2 separate regions of the Homo sapiens genome follow, and region 1 is linked to region 2. The links are contacts of gene promoters, found by promoter capture Hi-C in blood cells and fetal thymus (Javierre and others, 2016). All regions are on one chromosome and are shown on one strand. Each heading gives the region's core, a stretch centred on a gene start or on the middle of the fragment in contact. The rest is flanking DNA. Distances are from core to core; before and after follow the strand shown.

The links. The method cuts DNA at HindIII sites, captures the fragments that hold promoters and counts their contacts. A CHiCAGO score of 5 or more calls a contact.
Region 1: a contact is called between a fragment that was not itself captured here and the fragment with the promoter of IGFBP6 in region 2, in 1 of 17 cell types (fetal thymus). The highest score is 5.1, in fetal thymus.

Annotation. Positions count from the first base shown.
Region 1 is chr12:53,321,786-53,327,851 of GRCh38, forward strand. It overlaps SP7 (Sp7 transcription factor), which reads right to left. Exons shown (of 3, transcript NM_001173467.3): 3 at 4,790-6,066. Among named protein-coding and RNA genes, the nearest start is that of AAAS, 3.2 kb to the left of the region's middle. RefSeq lists enhancers at 2,004-2,737, 6,002-6,066 and a silencer at 3,051-3,550. The HindIII fragment of the contact is 2,736 bases long and covers 1-2,618 here.
Region 2 is chr12:53,092,710-53,099,524 of GRCh38, forward strand. It overlaps IGFBP6 (insulin like growth factor binding protein 6), which reads left to right and starts at 4,958. Exons shown (of 4, transcript NM_002178.3): 1 at 4,958-5,342. The coding sequence starts at 5,009. RefSeq lists silencers at 5,266-5,345, 5,356-5,475, 6,763-6,815. The HindIII fragment of the contact is 8,294 bases long and covers 1,472-6,815 here.

The DNA of each region.
Region 1 (6,066 bases), core at 1-2,500, 230 kb after region 2:
GTTTTTCCCAGCTCCGAATTCCCGAACACCTTCTCCCACTCACTATCTTAGCGCTTAGAAAGCCCGAAATAAGCCACATTCAGGGAAGTACCAAATTAATCCTCCCAGGCCTGTGGATCACCCAGAGGAAAATACAGGCTATGTCACAGGCAGCTGGCTGGAAAGCTGAGGGAAAAGCCTCAGAGAGGAGGAACAGTGCTGCACCCACACGGTTAGGCGTCCTGGAAAGGGAGGTGGGGACGGTTGGAAAACTAACATTTCCTGCCAGGCGCGGTGGCTCACGCCTGTAATCCCAGCACTTTGGGAGGTCGAGGTGGGTGGATCATCTGAAAGGAGTTCGCAGACTAGCCTGGCCAACATGCTGAAAACCCCATCTATACTAAAAATACAAAAATTAGTCGGGCGTGGTGGCGGGCACCTGTAATCCCAGCTAATCGGGAGGCTGAGGCAGGAGAATCTCTTGAACTCCGGAGGGGGAGGTTGCAGTGAGCCAAGATCGCACCATTGCACTCCAGCCTGGGTAACAAGAGGGAAACTTCGTCTCAAAAAGGAAAACTTTATTTTATTTTATTTTTTTGAGAGACAGGGTCTCGCTCTATTGCCCAGGATGAAGGCAGTGGTGCTATCTCAGCTCACTGCAACCTCTGCCTCCCCGGTTCAAGCGATTATCCTGCCTCAACCTCTGGAGTAGCTGGGATTACAGGCATGCTTCACCACGCCCAGCTAAGTTTGTATTTTTAGTAGAGACGAGGTTTTACCATGTTGGCCAGGCTGGTCTCAAACTCCTGACCTCAAGTGATCTGCCTGCTTTGGCCTCCCAAATTGCTGGGATTACAGGCCTGAGCCACCTTGCCGGGCTGCAAAACTATTTCCTGAGCACTTGTTACGATAAGTGCTTTTATAATCTTTACAACCCCATAAGGTGGGTGCTGTTCTGTCACCATGAGGAAAGTGAGTCACAGAGAGATTGGACCTAGATACACCCAAACCAGTTATTCTCACTTAAGAATAAAAGTAAGGCTGGGTGTGGTAGCTCACACCTGTAATCCCAGCACTTTGGGAGGCCGAGGCTGATCTCTTGAGCCCAGGAGTTCAAGACCAGCTTGGGCAAAATAGCAAGACCCTGTATCTACAAAAAATTCAAAAGTTAGCCAGCGTGGTGGTGGCAAGCGTCTTTAGTCCAGCTACTCAGAAGGCTGAGATAGGAGAATCCAGACTACAATGATCCAAGATAGCACCACTGCACTCCAGCCTGGGTCAAAGAGCGAGACCCTGTCAAGCAAGCCAGAGAGAAAGAGCCGGGCGCGGTGGCTCACGCCTGTAATCCCAGCACTTTGGGAAGCTGAGGTGGGCTGATCCCCTGAGGTCGGGATTTCGAGACCAGCCTGACCAACATGGAGAAACCCCATCTCTACTAAAAAATACAAAACCAGCCAGGCATTGTGGTGCATGCCTGTAATCCCAGCTACTCGGGAGGCTGAGGCAGGAGAATCCCTTGAACCTGGAAGGCGGAGGTTGCAGTGAGCAGAGATCGCGCCACTGCACTCCATCCAACCTGGGCAACAAGAGCGAAACTCCGTCTCAAAAAAAAAAAAAAACAAAAAACAAAACAAAACAAAAAAAAATGGGAGGGAAGGGAGAGGGAGAAAGAAAGGAAAGAAAGAAAGAGAATGGGGGCCCCTCTTACAGACTTTGGAAAAAACATTGAATTCTTTGAGTCTCACTTTTCTCATTTGCAGTGTCCTAATTATTTCATATGGTTGTTTTCCATACAAAATAATAAAATGAAGCTATTTAATAAATTTTAAAGTGCTAAACAAATGTCAGAGGTTAATAGCTATAACTGTGCCATCAACTAGGTGACCTTGGTCAGAGTTCATTAACAAATGTTAAGTGATTTGAAGATGTAGAAGGCTGTCCCCACTCCCAAGAGCTACCAGTCTCATTGAATAATCTAGGGGGCATTTAGTTCTAGTATTCTGGATTCCGTGTCTGCCCTTCTTTTTCACCTGAAAAATTCCCCCCAAGAGAGTTATTACCAGGTCAGAAAACAAAGGGCTCCAGAGTCTCCTGAAAATGCACTTCACCTGAGAAGGCAAGTGGATCTCCTCTAATCTAGTACTTCTCAACTGTTAAGGGACATAGGAATCACCTGAGCATCTCCTAAGGTGGCGCTCAGAGGCTATAGTTCCAAAGAATCCCCAGCTGATACTGCACAGACCACATTTTAAGTAGCAAGGCTCTAACCTAGCGGTCCCCAACTTTTTGGCACCAGGTTTAGTGGAAGACAGTTTTTCCAGGGGGAGCGGGGGAGGGAATGGTTTGGGGATGAAACTGTTACACCTGAGATCATCAGGCATTAGTTGGATTCTCATAAAAAGCGGGCAACCTAGGTCCTTCACGTGCGCAGTTCACAACAGAGTTCGCGCTACTATGAGAATCTAATGCCGCTGATCTGACAGGAGGCGGAGCTCAGCTTGCTCAGCTCGTCTCCGGCTGTGCGGTTCCTTTACAGGCCACCGACACGACGGGCCGTGGCGCGACCCCTGCTCTAACCTTTTCCCATAGCCCCATTTAATTTCCTATGTGAGTTCACCGTCACCTGGGAAGTCACAGAAAGCTTGAAGAACATAAGGTATACACTGGGGATGGTTTGGGGAACCTGGCTGGGAAAGCCTCCCTGAGAAGGGGAAGTGGGCAGGTTTGAGGGAGAGGAAGTCGGTGACTGACAGATTAGTGGAGAGCACTGAGGACCCACGATAGTTTCCGTTTGTACCTTAGTCGTAACACCATCCAAACCCAGATACCCCTAGGAAAAATCACTCCGGCCTGCAACTTGCATCCTTCGATGAAACCTCGATTTTCACCATCAGGTTATAATGATCGGTTAGGTGCCTGCTTCTTACCCTGTAAGGTGAACTGGAGAGAAGGAACAGTGCTGTTCCGCCCGCTGCCCCCGCCCTGGCCTGGCACAAGTACTGTCCCCTCCTCCATACTGCTTATTTAACGTTTGTGGAACGCTTTTCACCATTTGCGGGTTCTAGAAAGGCCCAAGTCCAGGCCCGGCGCGCTCACCCAGTAACTTCACCAGGGGGCGCGGCTGGCCAGGCAACGCAGCGACCGTGACCCACGCCCTATGGGCTCCGAGCGCTTAGCGGGCGGTCTCCGCCGGCCCCTCCCTACGACCTGGGCGGGAACCGAGAGAGCGCGCAGGCCGCTTCTAAAAGGGGCCCCCTACTTTGGGAGTCGTCACCGGAGCCTGGGTGCCCGGAGCTCCGCCCGCTACCCCTTCCCGGGCCCGCTGGAGCCCGGCGTCCCGACCCGGGGCCGGTAACCAGGCGCACATGGCCCGCCCGGCCCTGTTTGTCCTGGCAGCGCGCCGCCGCTATTTGAAGCGGTTTTTATCTCCCAGAAACCAGCAAAACCCCAAGCGGAGTCTAGGGAAGATGAAAGGGGCCGAAGGGTTGGGGAGGGGAGGACCGCGAGGCTGCGGCGGGCGGGAGCTGGCACCGGACAGGCGGAGACCGGGAGGCGAGAGGGCCAGACTCTGGGGGGTCCGGAGGAGCCCGCCCGGCGGGGTTGAGGCGGGATCCCGGGGTTCCACTCCAGGCCGCCGCCTCGCTCAGACCAGCTCCAAGGCGCCCCCCGCCTTTCCTCTGCCCCAGCCCCCTCTCCCGGGTCTCTTCCGTCACAGCCCCCAGCCCACTAAAGAAGTCTTCGGAACTCGGATTTCTTCAAAGCGCCTTTGAAGTCGCGCGCCCAGCCGGAGGGCAGGAGATTTCGCACCTGGGCGGGGGCGGGAGTGGCGTCAGGGTGGGGAGGGGGCTCGTAACCCGAGCCCCCCCAGGATCGCCGGCCCCCTCCCACCCGTAGCAGCCCCTCTTGCGACCCGTGCGGTGGACAGTCCGACGCGGGGCGCAGCTGGGAGTCGGGCCCAGGCCGGGGGGAGCGGCCTGTGAGCCCCCTCAGCCCAGCGGGGTAACCTTGGGGGGCGGGGGCCGCACAAAGCCCTATTGTGGCTCGGGGATGCTGCCACAGAGTGGTTTTTGTTCTTCGGCTAACTCCGTGGCGGGCACGACTGATTGCAGACCCAGGGCAGGGGGCGGGTTACGTGCCAGGCCCAGTCTGCCCGCCGGGAGCCGCACCACCGCCCGACTGGGGCCGCGCAGGAGTCCGCACTGCAACCGCGGTGCCCGCGCTCGGGTCGCGTCACTGCCCTGACCAGGGTCAGTTGGTGCAGTCCAGAAAGGGCCAGGGTAGAAACCAGTGAGTCTTCCCAACTCTGCAGAAAGCACTGCACGCCCAAAAACTGAACACCGCTGGAGGATTTGACCGAGAAACAATTTTGTTTTGTGTTTTGTTTTGAGACGGAGTCTCGCTCTGCAGCCCACGCTGGAGTGCAGTGGCGCGATCTCAGCTCACTGCAACCTCCACCTCCCAGGTTCCACGATTCTTCTGCCTCAGCCTCCCAAGCAGCTGGGATTACAGGCACCTGCCATCACGCCCGGCTGATTTTTGTATTTTTTAGTACAGACAGGGTTTCATCATGTTAGCGAGGATGGTCTCGAACTCCTGACCTCAGGTGATCCGCCCTTCTGGGCTTCCCGAAGTGCTGGGATTACATGTGTGAGCCACCACGCCCGGCCGATAAACTATTTTACCGCGAGCATAGGTGAGCAAACGTGCACAATAGAATATTCGCCCATGAGTAGTCCCCAATTTGCTAAGGAAAAAAAACCATTGGCCCTCGCTTCACCCTTCCTCTTCTCCTTTTCTCACCAGGACAAAATTTCAAATCCAACTTTTATTTATTAAATTAAAAAAAAAAGACTCCACAAAGGGCATGATCCCTTCCATTCCACAATGTTCTCTCCCCAAGCTCCAGCGGCTTTAACCCTTTAACTTGGGGCCTTGAGACAGCAGGGGACAGAAAAGGAGGATCCAACGTTACAGGAAAGGCACGAAGCGGCTTTAAAAGTCACTGGAGGTGGAGATGGGAGCATCCAAAGTCCCAGGGTGGGGGTGCGTGGATGCACCACCAGATCAGCTTGGGGGCCTCTGTCCTCCTAGCTCTTTAAGTTCTTTCTCAGGGCTTCTAGGCACCAGATCTAGCATAGTGCCTTGCACAGAGTAGGCACTCAATACATACTTATTTGAATCTGATCCTAGAGAAAGCCTTCCCCACCCATTCTTCAGGAGGTGCACCCCCAAACCAATGTCCTCCTGTTAGATGGGCTTCCCCAAAGAGCACATCTAAGATGGCAGCTGCAAGCTCTCCATAACCATGGCAACAGGGGATTAACCTGATGGGGTCATGGTGTCTAAGGGGTGGGGCAGTGGAGGAACCTGCTCTGCAGTCAAGGGAGATGGGGTACATTCCAGTCCTTCTCCCCTCCATAGGACTTGAGGTTTCACAGCTTCTGGCTGGGGCTGGGGATATTAGGGATCCCCCTAATCAAGAGATACCCCATCAACTGTTTAGCAGAGATGTAGCTAACCCAATTTGTAGAGACTTCATTACAAGAGAAACCCTATCAACTGAGATTCTGATGATAGACATTCTATTAACAAGATCTTCTCCACTAACATTTTGTCTATACAGAGATGCATTTGACTAGAATTTCCTTAGCAGAAATGGATCCACTTCCCTCCCCAGCTCACTCTACCTGACCCGTCATCATAACTTACATAAATAGAATTATTACTATTCATTACTCCTGGTACATAGGGGTTAAATATACAGGCCTGGGGGCAGCCTCCCTGACCCTGGGGTCACCCCATCTTTGGGATCAGATCCCCACTGGTCTGCCCCCCTCTTGGCACCCTCTGGCCAGGTCACTAACCCCAATACCCCTGATGAAGAGGCCACCAGGGGGCAATAAATTATCATTATCATTGTGTTTGTAAAAAGGAAAAAAGAGTTCTGGAGAATGGAAAGCAATGGTGTAAGAAGTTGGGAAGACTGAAGCCTGGAGGCTGAGGGACAGCAGGAAATAAGCTTGAGAAGCAGAAAGGGGTACATGTCAAGGAGTGAGATGGAGAAATAGTGTTGGGAGCCCAAATAGA
Region 2 (6,815 bases), core at 3,708-6,207:
CCCACCTCGGCCTCCCAAAGTGCTGGGATTACAGGCGTGAGTAAGCACACCTGGCCTAAAAAATTAAAAAATTAGCCAGATGTGGTGGTGCGTGGCTGTGGTCCCAACTACTCTGGAGGCTGAAATGGAAGGATTACTTGAGCCCATGAGGTTGAGGCTGCAGTGAGCTGTGACTGAGCCACTGCACTCCAGCCTGGGTGACAGAGTGAGACCCTGTTTCAAAAAAAAAAGAATGTGGCTAGTGATGAGGGGAGTGAAGGGAGGGTCCTTGTAAGCTGAAAGCTTGGAGTTCAGGGGAAGAAATGATCTCTGAGCACCAATTATGCCTCATCCTCATTTCCCCTTATCCCATTTCAATCCCCAAGATGAGAAACTACCAGGGGGTTCTGGGGAAGGTGATTCAGCCAGCTAACTGAAGCAGAGTGTGTTTCAGGGTCATTGTCTACGGGACCCTGAATGTCAGGTGGAGCACAGGTTCTATGGTAGGGGAGGACATCGAGGAATAACACACACCGGGACCTGTGGGGTCGGGGGGCAAGGGGAGGGAGAGCATCAGATCAAATAGCTAAGGCATGTGGGGTTTAATACATAAATATATGGACTGGGCATGGTGGCTTATGCCTGTAATCCCAGCATTTTGAGAGGCTGAGGCGGGCAGATCATGAGGTCAGGAGTTGGAGACCAGCATGATCAACATGGTGAAACCTCGTCTCTACTAAAAATACAAAAATTAGCCGGGCACGGTGGCACGTGGCTGTAATCCCAGCTACTCAGGAGGCTGAGGCAGGAGAATCACCTGAACCCAGGAGGCAGAGGTTGCAGTGAGCCGAGTTCGCGTCACTGCACTCCAACCTGGGCGACAGAGCCAGACTCCGTCTCAAAAAAAACGAAAAACAAAAAACATAAATACATAAGTGATGGATTGATAGGTGCAGCAAACCACTGTGGCACATGTTTACCTATGTAACAAACCTGCACATTCTGCACATACATCCCAGAACTTAAAGTAAAATTTAAAAACCAAGAAATAAAAAGTAAAGTGCCCCCGAAATCCTTGAGGAGAAGAGAATTATGGGATCAGGAGCACATTTCAGCAGGACCAGTTTGGATGGTATGTGTGGGAGAGATGGCAGAAAACAGAGGCTGCAGGTTAGCTGAGGTTTACACAGTAGTTCCCATCAGGCCCACGTCAGCCTTAGGCCATGTCATGATGTGATGTGGTCATTGAACTTCCTCTCTGGGACTTTCTGTCTGTGGACTGTGCCACTGTTTCTCGTCTCAAATTTAAAGCTGAATATGGTCCAGGCAGGCCCCTTCCTTTATCCCTTGTTCTCAAAAGGAAGTCAGCACTTGGGGCACCATGAATTTAGAGGGACGGGTTGAGTGTGAGAGACACAGCATGAAGGATCAGAAAACCAGGGTATAATGTAGATGCGGAGGAGGAAGTTCCAGTAGAGTTTGTTTATGGAAAAGCTTAAGTGATAGCCCAAGCTATTTAGCCTTTCCTCAGCCTGGAAGAAACTTCTCAGCAAACCCTTCTCACACAAAGGCCAGACAGAATCCGACAGTTTTGTACCTTGGCCCACACTCTTGGTCTGAGTGCTGAACATGTGCTTCAGATTTCTGCCCTGGGTACTAAGGCAGAGGGCATCCCAATGGCAGGAAGGCAGAGTTCAAGCGTCTCAGTCTGCAAAGAGACCGGTTAGACCCTCAGTGCTGATGGCCATACAACTGGGGATCATGCTAGAGGGAGGGGGAAACAGGGAAGTGTAATCCTGGGGTGGTGGGTGGAACTGGACTGTGCAATCGGGCTTAGAATCTAGAAAGTAACAGCTGGGCAGGTGGGAGCGGCAGGCAGGGAGAATCTGAGGCAGTGGTAGCAGCGTGGGAAGCGGGGGCTGGAAATTGAGGAGGGTTGAGGAGGGAGTGGTGGATGTTAGAAGCTGGCAAAGTGTTGGGCTTTTTCTGAACGATAACCTACAAAGGAGTAGCACAGCCTTTTTTTTTTTTTTTTTTTTTTTTTTTTTTTTTTCTTTGAGACAGGGTCTCACTCTGGTTGTTCCAGGCTGGAGTGCAGTGGTGTGATCTTGGCTCATCCCTTCCACCTTAGCCTCCTAGGTAGCTGGGACTAAAGGCATGCACCACCACATCTGGCTGATATTTTGTATTTTTAGTAGAGATGGGGCTTGGTCATGTTGCCCAGGCTGGTCTGGAACTCCTGGGCTCAATTGATCCTCCCACCTTGGCCTCCCAGAGTGCTGGGATTACAGGCATGAATCACTATGACAAACATCTTTAAAGAGCCACATCAATCTGGGTGCAGTGGCTCACACCTATAATTCCAGAACTCTGGGAGGCCAAGGCGGAAGGATCACTTGAGCCCAGGAGTTCCAGACCAGCCTGGGCAACATGTCGAAACCCCCTCTCTGCTAAAAATACAATTAGCCAGGCGTGGTGGTGTGTGCCTGTAGTCCCAGCTACCTGGGAGGCTAAGGTGGGAGGATCTTCTGAGCCCAGGAGGTCAAGGTTACAGTGAGCCGTGATGGAGTCACTGCACTCCAGCCTGGGAAATAAAATGAGAACCTGCCTCAAAAAAAAAAAAAATCTAGAACCAGACCAGAAATACCATTTGACCCAACGATCCCATTACTGGGTATATACCCAAAGGAATATAAATCATTCTATTATAAAAATACATGCACATGTATGTTTATTGCAGCACTATTCACAATAGCAAAGACATAGAACCAACCCAAATGCATGGAATACTATGCAGCCATAAAAAGGAATGTGATAATGTCCTCTGCAGGGACATGGATGAAGCTGGAAGCCATCATTCTCAGCAAACTAACACAGGAACAGAAAACCAAACACTACATGTTCTCACTTATAAGTGGGGGCTGAAAACAATGAGAAAACATGGACACAGGGAGGGGAACAACACACACTGGGGCCTGTGGCGGGGTAGGGGCTAGGGGAGGGAGAGCATCAGGTCAAATAGCTAATGTATGCGGGACTTAATACCTAGGTGTTGGGTTGACGGGCAGCAAACCACATGGCACATGTTTACCTATGTAACAAACCTGCACATTCTGCACATGTATCCCAGAACTTAAAATAAAATAAAATAAAATTTAAATTTAAAAAAGAGCCACACTGGGATCCTGCAAGAGCACAGCCATCTCTTTCCCCTTCCCAACTTCCCACAGGCTTTCCATCTTATTCAGGAGCACCAACCCGAAGTCCAGGAGAAAGACCCTAAGACCCTAGCCAGAACCATGTGTAGGACAAAATAAATAGTGATAAAGGGTGTGCAGCAGGACCCCAGTACTCTGGAACCCATCTCTGACAGCCTTGGTTCCAGGGAGCTTGGTCAGAGCTTGTGGCAGGGGGTTGAAGAGCCTTGGTGGAAGGGGTGCTTTCTCTCACCCCTTTCCCAATTTTGCCCTTCCTCTCCTCTGCCCTGGTCTACTTCTCCCATCAGCAGTAGCTTCTCCCATCAGCTGCCCCACAACCCTCTCCTCCCTGCCTCTCCAGTCTGCATCAGTATCTCAGGGAAACAGGAAAACACCATTCTCCAAACACATGTCCTAGGGTCCCAGGGTTGCATGGCGAAGCGGGCTGTGCTGACAATGAGGTTCGTATTATTTCTATTTACCTAAAAGTTCAAGAAGGCCTTGCTGACATTGTTGCTTGGGGCCCAGCATTTAAACTTAGTCACTGCCCAGAGCCCTTGTTTTAGGAAAGAATGAGATGGTCCCTGTTGCATAACCCAGAGTTGGGTGGGTGTGGGTTGCCGAAGGAAACAATCCCTCTTCCTCTCTCTTGTGAGGCCTGGCTAGGAGTGCCTGGGATGGGCGGGACACTGCCTGGGGAAGGCGGGTGGGGAGCGGTGGAACCCGACCCTTGGAGCGAAGGCGGACAAGTAGGTAGGCAAAGATGCTGAGTAGTCCCTCCCCAAAGTCCCCTGGGCACAAGACAGTCTGATGAATCTAGAAAACCCCATGGATGACTGGGAGGGAAGGAAACGGATTCTGGGAGAGGAGAGGAATGGAGGAGCGAGCTTACCTGAAGGACGGGGATGGGGAGGGGGGTGGGGTCTGCTCTCTGGCCACTGTCCCCAAGAGCATCCCGAATACGAGTTCCTTTAATTCTCTCCCTCTCTAGTTTCAACCTGCCAATTTCCCCCTTTCCCTGCCTCCCAGCCAGTTCTCACCCTGCACACAGCCCTCTCCAATCCTTCCAGACTCCGCATGCGCCCACCACAATGCTAGGGTCTCCTACGGTTCATTCAAGTTGTATCCCTCCCTGCCTCCCGGCCCTTCCCCCATTGGCTTACCCCAGTCTGGTTCCCCTCGGGCCCCTTTTCTCCATAGTCTTACCTCAAGGGTGCTTTCTCTTACTCCTTTCCCAATTTTGCCCTTCCTCTCCTCTGCCCTGTTCTACTTCTCCCATCAGCAGTAGAATTTCCCAAGACCCCGTTATCCACCCTCTCCATCTTTTCTCTGTCCCTCCACATTTGCCCACTCCTCTTGTGATCCACACACACCATCTCTTCTCAGTTCCCTTTCAGCCCCCGTCTTCTCACTCCCCACCGGGTCCCTGCATGCCCCTCGTCGTCCTACACATACACACTAAGTGGATTGCACTCCCGTCCTCCCCTTCTTCCGCTCCTCCCCACCCTCCAGTCCCTCCAGCCAGCTGTACAGCTCCCAAATTCCGGGCCGAGATTCCCGGGAACAAAGCAAGAAAAATCAGAGCAATTTGGGAAGTAAACAGAAACTGGAAAGGGAGAGGGAAAGAAGAGTGGGGAGGACCCAGGTTGGGGGGGCCCTCTCCAGTCCCACCCAGTTTAGGGAATGCCCCTGCCCTCTCCCCCACCCCCCTTCACCTGGCTCTTAAAGGGCCCGGCCCCTGGCCGGCGGCTACTTAAGACAGAGGGGCGGCGGCGGGCAGCAGCTGCGCTGCGACTGCTCTGGAAGGAGAGGACGGGGCACAAACCCTGACCATGACCCCCCACAGGCTGCTGCCACCGCTGCTGCTGCTGCTAGCTCTGCTGCTCGCTGCCAGCCCAGGAGGCGCCTTGGCGCGGTGCCCAGGCTGCGGGCAAGGGGTGCAGGCGGGTTGTCCAGGGGGCTGCGTGGAGGAGGAGGATGGGGGGTCGCCAGCCGAGGGCTGCGCGGAAGCTGAGGGCTGTCTCAGGAGGGAGGGGCAGGAGTGCGGGGTCTACACCCCTAACTGCGCCCCAGGACTGCAGTGCCATCCGCCCAAGGACGACGAGGCGCCTTTGCGGGCGCTGCTGCTCGGCCGAGGCCGCTGCCTTCCGGCCCGCGCGCCTGCTGGTGAGTCCGCGCCCCGCCCCTGCCCCGCCCACGTGAGACCCGCGTCCTCCAGGCAGGGTCCTGGGGAGACGGGAGTGGGTGGCCCGGCAAGCCTTTCCGCCCTGGCCCTTGACGCTTCCGACTTTGGGGGGCACATTTGTGTGGGGGAGAAGGGGCAAGTGCAGGAAGCTGAGGTGCAGCCAGGGGACCTGGTGATACAGCAGAAGGTGTCTGCGCTCTCGGCCTTCTTTTTTGCTCCATTTATTTTCCCTTGATGGAGTGTGCGTGCAGGTGGGAACTTGGGGGAGGCAGGGGGAGAAATGGGAGGGTTTTAGGGCCATCCCATGGGCTCCAGCAGGCCCAGCTCCTACAACCCTAGACGGCCAAGCTGGGGAAAGGACCCAAATGTTGTTCTCAGCTTCCACTTGGAGAAAAGGGGAGGGGAACCCCAGACTCTGAAATTCTGCACACACTGAGAAATGACTCCTTTCCTCCTAATACCGGTGTTCGAAGCACCTAAACAGGAGGCGTCTAGAACCGAAGAGGCCCCAAATCCAGGGTTGTATTAGACTTGAGTAGGGACTGAGGGCAGGCTAGGGCGTAGGTTAGGGGAGAGGGGAGAAAGAGTAGGGGAAAGAGGGAATCTGCCAAATCAGGGTTATGATTTAAACCTGCTCAGAATCGTTCACCCATCCTACCCCACCCTGCTCCAGGGAGGAGAGCAGAAGCTGAGTCACTGGGTGGGTGGGACAGAAGTGAATCAGCCGTGAAAACATGGGGGGCAGCGGGGAGATGGGGAGGGCAGGAAATGCAAACTGCGCATCCCAGAGGCTCTGGGTTCCTTCCACGGGAGGGGATGGAGAATTCACTTGGAGTTTCTTTCAGTTCCAAATGCCCGAGTGCAGGCTTCTGGGCGTCCTCCTAAAAGGTGGTCTGGGTGGATGAGAGGAGGCAGTTTGGAACTAAATGGTTGGGTGCTAAATGTAGGGAATGAAGGAGAAGGTCTGGGGAGGGGTGGGCATCCTGAGGAAGAAGGATCAGACTCAGGATTGCAGGGGAAATGTCTCCTGGGTTGTGAGTGGTAGTTAGCTGGGAGCTTGTCTTTAGGCACAGAGGAAGAGGATCCCTTCAGGGGTTCTGATATCTGATTAGATGTTAGGCAAATTCCAAGCAGTCAGTACATGCTCCCCTTTCTGCCTTTTCCTGTCCCTGACTTATTTCCTCACCCCTTCCCAGTCCTGAGCTCTCCCCGGACCCTCCGGAAACTTTCTCCAGAGCCAGGAGCAACCTGCAGGTTGGAAGCCCCTCATTCCTTGCACCTTCTTAATCTGCCCTCAGCCTATCTTGGTTAAGGGTTGAATCCATGTGCTCCTGGGACCACTGGGGTTGAGCTGGCCTGGGTCACAGGGTACCAGAAGGGAGAGGTTCCCACTGCAGTGCCCCAGAAGTAACCACATCTCAGGCCTGGGAGGGGTGGGTTGAGTCATAGCAAGG